Linked DNA regions of Homo sapiens: region 2 is linked to region 1. The links are contacts of gene promoters, found by promoter capture Hi-C in human tissues and cell types (Jung and others, 2019). All regions are on one chromosome and are shown on one strand. Each heading gives the region's core, a stretch centred on a gene start or on the middle of the fragment in contact. The rest is flanking DNA. Distances are from core to core; before and after follow the strand shown.

Evidence for each region. Contacts are between HindIII fragments. The study calls those that stand out against the background at their distance.
Region 2: a fragment that was not itself captured here is called in contact with the fragment with the promoter of NPPA in region 1 in 1 of the 25 tissues and cell types used here (spleen).

What each region holds. Positions count from the first base shown.
Region 1 is chr1:11,845,995-11,849,466 of GRCh38, reverse strand. It overlaps NPPA (natriuretic peptide A), which reads left to right and starts at 1,684. Exons shown (of 3, transcript NM_006172.4): 1 at 1,684-1,905; 2 at 2,028-2,354; 3 at 3,453-3,472. The coding sequence starts at 1,783. The coding sequence ends at 3,458. It also overlaps NPPA-AS1. RefSeq lists an enhancer at 858-2,648. The HindIII fragment of the contact is 8,124 bases long and covers 1-1,946 here.
Region 2 is chr1:12,048,368-12,051,839 of GRCh38, reverse strand. No RefSeq gene overlaps it. Among named protein-coding and RNA genes, the nearest start is that of TNFRSF8, 13 kb to the left of the region's middle. The HindIII fragment of the contact is 8,815 bases long and covers 1-3,472 here.

The DNA of each region.
Region 1 (3,472 bases), core at 435-2,934:
TACAAGCAACCAATAAAGACAACTATGATGGCCATCTTGCAGGGACTCAGCACTGCACACTTGTTATGTGTTGACACGTTCTCAGCTCACTTGGGCTCCACAACAATCCTGCAAGGTAGGCAGGGAAGATTTCTACTTTATTCATTCATTTATTTATTTATTTTTTGAGACCGAGTCCCACTCTGTTGCCCAGGCTAGAGTGCAGTGGTGCGATCTTGGTTCACTACAACCTCCGCCTCCCAAGGTCAAGCAATTCTTTTACCTCAGCCTCCCTAGTAGCGGGGATTACAGGCACATGCCACCACACCCAGCTAATTTTTATATTTTTAGTAGAGACAGAGTTTTGCCATGTTGGTAGGGCTGGTCTCAAACTCCTGGCCTCAGGTGATCCACCCACCTTAGCCTCCCAAAGTGCTGGGATTATACGTGTGAGCCACTGCACCCGGCCGGTTTTTAACATTCTTTCTCATTTTACACACAAGGAAAGTAAGGCTGCGAAGAGGTATGCAACTGGTTTGTTTTGGGCTACAGTACTGGTCTCTCAGCCCTTCAAATTTAGAGTTTTCCCCCAGTATACGTTGCATTGAATGGTAATGGCTAACACTGAGTTCAGTGCTTAGCAAACAGGCCATTCATTAAACATAGACAGACTTGCTGCCTGTTATTTCCCTTTTGGGGGCCAGGGAAATTGTGACCTTGGTGGCTCGGTCACTTGCCACTTGCCACGTCCTCAGGGAAGGATGTAGAAGGCATTGAGGGAAACTGACTATACCTCCTTCACCCCCACCTCCCTTCCTCCATCGGTCAAGTTGCCACGGGCACAAGCCCAGGAAGGGCAGGGGGATGTTAACAAACTTCAGACACGAAGAGTCTGAGCATCTATAAACAGCAACGGAAGAAATGAAATTGGCTGCGTCCTCTAAGCCTGTCCCCGCAGCATGCTGGAGGAGGGTCGCGGGGGACATGGAAGAGGAGGAGCTTTGGAGAGAGGATGCTTGTGCTCCCCCGCCTTTTCTTGCTATTTCTATTTGGGGGTTGGATTCCTGGGAGCTTCATCACATTTGGTTCTCAGCTGACTTTATATACTAAAAAATAACTTCCTTTCGCCTGACCATGGAGAGGGACTGCCAGGGGTGAAGGCAGCCCTGTCTGAGGCCAGAGGTCTGCCCACGTGGCGGATGAGGCAGGTGTGAGGCCAGCTTGAGCATCTGGATCCATTTGTCTCGGGCTGCTGGCTGCCTGCCATTTCCTCCTCTCCACCCTTATTTGGAGGCCCTGACAGCTGAGCCACAAACAAACCAGGGGAGCTGGGCACCAGCCAAGCGTCACCCTCTGTTTCCCCGCACGGGTACCAGCGTCGAGGAGAAAGAATCCTGAGGCACGGCGGTGAGATAACCAAGGACTCTTTTTTACTCTTCTCACACCTTTGAAGTGGGAGCCTCTTGAGTCAAATCAGTAAGAATGCGGCTCTTGCAGCTGAGGGTCTGGGGGGCTGTTGGGGCTGCCCAAGGCAGAGAGGGGCTGTGACAAGCCCTGCGGGATGATAACTTTAAAAGGGCATCTCCTGCTGGCTTCTCACTTGGCAGCTTTATCACTGCAAGTGACAGAATGGGGAGGGTTCTGTCTCTCCTGCGTGCTTGGAGAGCTGGGGGGCTATAAAAAGAGGCGGCACTGGGCAGCTGGGAGACAGGGACAGACGTAGGCCAAGAGAGGGGAACCAGAGAGGAACCAGAGGGGAGAGACAGAGCAGCAAGCAGTGGATTGCTCCTTGACGACGCCAGCATGAGCTCCTTCTCCACCACCACCGTGAGCTTCCTCCTTTTACTGGCATTCCAGCTCCTAGGTCAGACCAGAGCTAATCCCATGTACAATGCCGTGTCCAACGCAGACCTGATGGATTTCAAGGTAGGGCCAGGAAAGCGGGTGCAGTCTGGGGCCAGGGGGCTTTCTGATGCTGTGCTCACTCCTCTTGATTTCCTCCAAGTCAGTGAGGTTTATCCCTTTCCCTGTATTTTCCTTTTCTAAAGAATTTGCTGGACCATTTGGAAGAAAAGATGCCTTTAGAAGATGAGGTCGTGCCCCCACAAGTGCTCAGTGAGCCGAATGAAGAAGCGGGGGCTGCTCTCAGCCCCCTCCCTGAGGTGCCTCCCTGGACCGGGGAAGTCAGCCCAGCCCAGAGAGATGGAGGTGCCCTCGGGCGGGGCCCCTGGGACTCCTCTGATCGATCTGCCCTCCTAAAAAGCAAGCTGAGGGCGCTGCTCACTGCCCCTCGGAGCCTGCGGAGATCCAGCTGCTTCGGGGGCAGGATGGACAGGATTGGAGCCCAGAGCGGACTGGGCTGTAACAGCTTCCGGGTAAGAGGAACTGGGGATGGAAATGGGATGGGATGGACACTACTGGGAGACACCTTCAGCAGGAAAGGGACCAATGCAGAAGCTCATTCCCTCTCAAGTTTCTGCCCCAACACCCAGAGTGCCCCATGGGTGTCAGGACATGCCATCTATTGTCCTTAGCTAGTCTGCTGAGAAAATGCTTAAAAAAAAAAGGGGGGGGGGCTGGGCACAGTGGCTCACGCCTGTAATCCCAGCACTTTGGGAGGCCGAGGCAGGCGGATCATGAGGTCAAGAGATCAAGACTATCCTGGCCAACATGGTGAAACCCCAGCTCTACTAAAAATACAAAAATTAGCTGGGTGTGGTGGCGGGCACCTGTACTCTCAGCTACTTGGGAGGCTGAGGCAGGAGAATCACTTGAACCCAGGAGGCAGAGGTTGCAGTGAGCAGAGATCACGCCACTGCAGTCCAGCCTAGGTGATAGAGCGAGACTGTCTCAAAAAAAAAAAAAAAAGGCCAGGCACGGTGGCTCACGCCTGTAATCCCAGCGCTTTGGGAGGCCAAGGCGGGTGGATCACGAGGTCAGGAGATGGAGACCATCCTGGCTAACACGGTGAAACCCCGTCTCTACTAAAAATACAAAAAATTAGCCAGGCGTGGTGGCAGGCGCCTGTAAGTCCTAGCTACTCCGGAGGCTGAGGCAGGAGAATGGCGTGAACCCGGGAGGCGGAGCTTGCAGTGAGCAGAGATGGCACCACTGCACTCCAGCCTGGGCGACAGAGCAAGACTCCGTCTCAAAAAAAAAAAAAAAAAAAGCAACTGCCACTAGCACTGGGAAATTAAAATATTCATAGAGCCAAGTTATCTTTGCATGGCTGATTAGCAGTTCATATTCCTCCCCAGAATTGCAAGATCCTGAAGGGCTTAAGTGAAATTTACTCTGATGAGTAACTTGCTTATCAATTCATGAAGCTCAGAGGGTCATCAGGCTGGGGTGGGGGCCGGTGGGAAGCAGGTGGTCAGTAATCAAGTTCAGAGGATGGGCACACTCATACATGAAGCTGACTTTTCCAGGACAGCCAGGTCACCAAGCCAGATATGTCTGTGTTCTCTTTGCAGTACTGAAGATAACAGCCAGG
Region 2 (3,472 bases), core at 285-2,784, 200 kb before region 1:
TGCCTGGGAGGCTGAGGCGGGAGAATTGCTTAAACCCAGGAAATCGAGGCTGCAGTGAGCTAGGATTGCACCACTGCACTCCAGGCTGGGTGACAGAGTGAGACTCTGTTTAAAAACAAAAAAAAAAAAAAGCTGTATTAATAAAATGTAATTAGAGGTATCCAGGTGTTGGGGGAAAAAAGCATTTGGTAAAGTCAGAGAAAGCTGGGTTCAAATCCCACCTCTTACTGCAGCCACAGCTGAGCAACTTGGAGCCAGCTGGTTAACCACCCTGGGCCTTGCCTTTCTTATCCATCAAATGGAAATAACAATGGCACTGACATCACAGACTTATGCAAAGATCTGAGATGCTAAATGCTTGGCACAGGAAGCTCCAGGATACCCAGCTATAATACCACAAAGACAGGGATCTATTCTAAATTTGTGGCCATCTAGTCAGGGCCCGGCCACAGGACAAATGAGGCCACCATTTTGCCTCCAGGCCCCCAGGTCTCCTGGGCCTCAGATGCCGGAGCACAAAGCCTCACTGTATTTGCACCTGGTTCACGCAGCCCCCTGGAGGCTCTGGACTTGAGAAGGCAAGCTCCCTGAGGGCAGGGAGTTTCTCAATGCTAGTTTCTCAATGCTTTATTACCAGGGCTTGGCATAATAAATATTTATTGAATTAATAAATAGAGCAGGCCGGGCACAGTGGTTCACGCCTGTAATCCCAGCACTTTGGGAGGCCGAGGCGGGCTGATCACTTAAGGTCAGGAGTTCGAGACCAGCCTTGCCAACATGGTGAAACCCCGTCTCTACTAAAAATGCAAAAAAAAAAATTAGCTGGGAGTGGTGGTGGGTGCCTGTAATCCCAGCTAATCGGGAGGCTGAGGCAGGAGAATCGCTTGAACCCAGGAGGCAGAGGTTGCAGTGAGCTGAGATTGCGCCACTGCAGAGCGAGACTCCATCTCAAAAAAAAAAAAAAGAATATAACCATCTCAAATTAAAAATAATAATAGGCTGGGCACGGTGGCTTACCCCTGTAATCCTAGCACTTTGGGAGGCTGAGGCAGGTGGATTACTTAAGGTCAGGAGTTTGAAACCAGCCTGGCCAACATGGTGAAACGCCGTTTCTAATAAAAATATAAAAAAATTAGCTGGGTGTGGTGGTGGGCACCTGTATTCCCAGCTAATCAGGAGGCTGAGGCAGGAGAATTGCTTGAACCTGGGAGGCAGAGGTTGCAGTGAGCCGAGATTGTGCCACTGCACTCCGGCCTGGGCAATAGAGAGAGATTCAGTCTCAAAATAATAATAATTTTTCAAGCAATTAGTTCGGCTTGCCACATTCTGATAGATTCAGATGCTAAGGAGACAATGAGCCCAGCTAGATTTAAAGGGTTTACTACTGGCCGGGCAGGGTGGCTCATGCCTATAATCCCAGCAATTTGGGAGGCCAAGGTGGGCAGATCCCTTGAGCCCAGGAGCTGCCCATCCTGGGCAACAAAGTGAGACTCCTCATCTCTACAAAAAAAAAAAAAAAAAATTAGCCGGGTGTGGTGGCATACTCCTGTAGTCCCAGCTACTCGGGGGACTGAGGTGGGAGGACGGCCTGAGCCCAGGAGGTCGAGGCTGTAGTGAGCCATGATCGCACCACTGCCCTCCAGCCTGGGTGACACAGCAAGACCCTGTCTAGAAAAAATAAAATGAGGGTCTACTACCTGCAGCCCTGCACATAGCATGAGCACTGAATTTGCATTGCTTGCCCTTGCCCTTGCCCTTAACATCCCTTCACGTAGGGTGAGGAACCAGCCCAGGCTGGTGCTGAGCACACACCATGGGAGACCCCCAATCTCATTAGGGGCTGCTGGCAAACCTATTCAACCTCTGTCCTGAGAAGACATTGTCTTTATCACCCTGGAATAGCCATCTCCCTAGGGGACGGGAGGGAGTCCTTACTGTCCTGGAAAGTAAATACATTTGCTCGCTAGCCCAGTGGGAGATGCTACCTCCAGCTTCCAAGACTGTTTGCTATGCAAACAATAATCATGGCTATCATTGATCAGCAGCTCCTAGGTGCCTACCAGCCATTGCAATAGCAGTCCCTGTATTAGTCCACTAGGGCTGAGTATAACAGAACAACACACGTTGGAGGGCTTAAGCAACAGAAATTTATTTCCTTTTTTTTTTTTCTTTCGAGACAAAGTCTCACTCTTGTCACCCAGGCTGGAGTGCAATGGCACAATCTTTGCTCACTGCAGCTTCTGTCTCCCGGGTTCAAGCAATTATCCTGCCTCAGCCTCCCGAGTAGCTAGGATTACAGGCATGTGCCACCACACCTGGCTAATTTTTGTATTTTTAGTAGAGACGGGGTTTTACCATGTTGCCAGGCTGGTCTCAAACTCCTGACCTCAGGTGATCCACCCGCCTTGGCCTCCCAAAGTGCTGGGATTACAGGAGTGAGCCACCACGCCCAGCCCAGAAATTTATTTTCTTATCATTCTCAAGGCTGTGAATCTGAGAGTAAGGTGTCAGCAGATTTGCTTTTTCCTCAGGTCTCGCTCCTTGACTTGAGGACATCACCTTCTTGCTATGTCCTTGAGGGGCCTTTTCTCTGCGTGTGCATTCCTGGTGTCCTTTTCTCTTCTTAGGAGTGTGATAATCCCATTAGCTGAAAGCCCCACCCTTAGGACCTCGCTTAACCTTAATTACCTTTTTAAAGGTCCTGTCTTGGCCAGGCGCGGTGGCTCACGCCTGTAATCCCAACACTTTGGGAGGCCGAGGCGGGCGGATCACAAGGTCAGGAGTTTGAGACCACCCTGACCAACATGGTGAAACCCTGTCTCTACTAAAAATACAAACATTAGCCGGGCTTGTTGGCACGTGCCTATAATCCCAGCTTCTGGGGAGGTCAAGGCAGGAGAATCATTTGAACCCGGGAGGCGGAGGTTGCAGTGAGCCGAGATCATGCCACTGCACTCCAGCCTGGATGACAGAGAAAGACTTCGTCTTAAAAAAACAAAAACAAAAATGAAAACAAAAACCAAAAAGAGGCCCTGTCTCATTGGGGGTTAGGGCTTCAACCTATGAATTTGGGGGGCATGAACTTGGCAGGGAGAAGCAGGCACAGTTCAGTCCATAACGGCTCTTCTCCACATGAGTTCATTTATTTCCCATATCCACAAGGAGGCTTAGAAAGAGATGAAGTTGAGTTGTGAGGCAACTTGTCCAAAGTCACATAGAAAAAAGAAAAAAGCAACATGTCCTACTGTTTCAATGAATAACCGTGTCCTCTGTGCCTGGGCTCAACTCCAGAGAACTTGGAAGGAAGAAGGGAGTCATGGATTTGGATCTGAAAGGTTCCTAAGCAGGAAGAATCTGCTTCATCCCAGGAATTGTTCTAAGACTTTTTTTTTTCTTTGTCTTTTTCTTTCTTTCCTTTCTTTCTTTCTTTCTTTTTTTTCTTTCTCTTTTGAGACAGCTTCTGGCTCTGTTG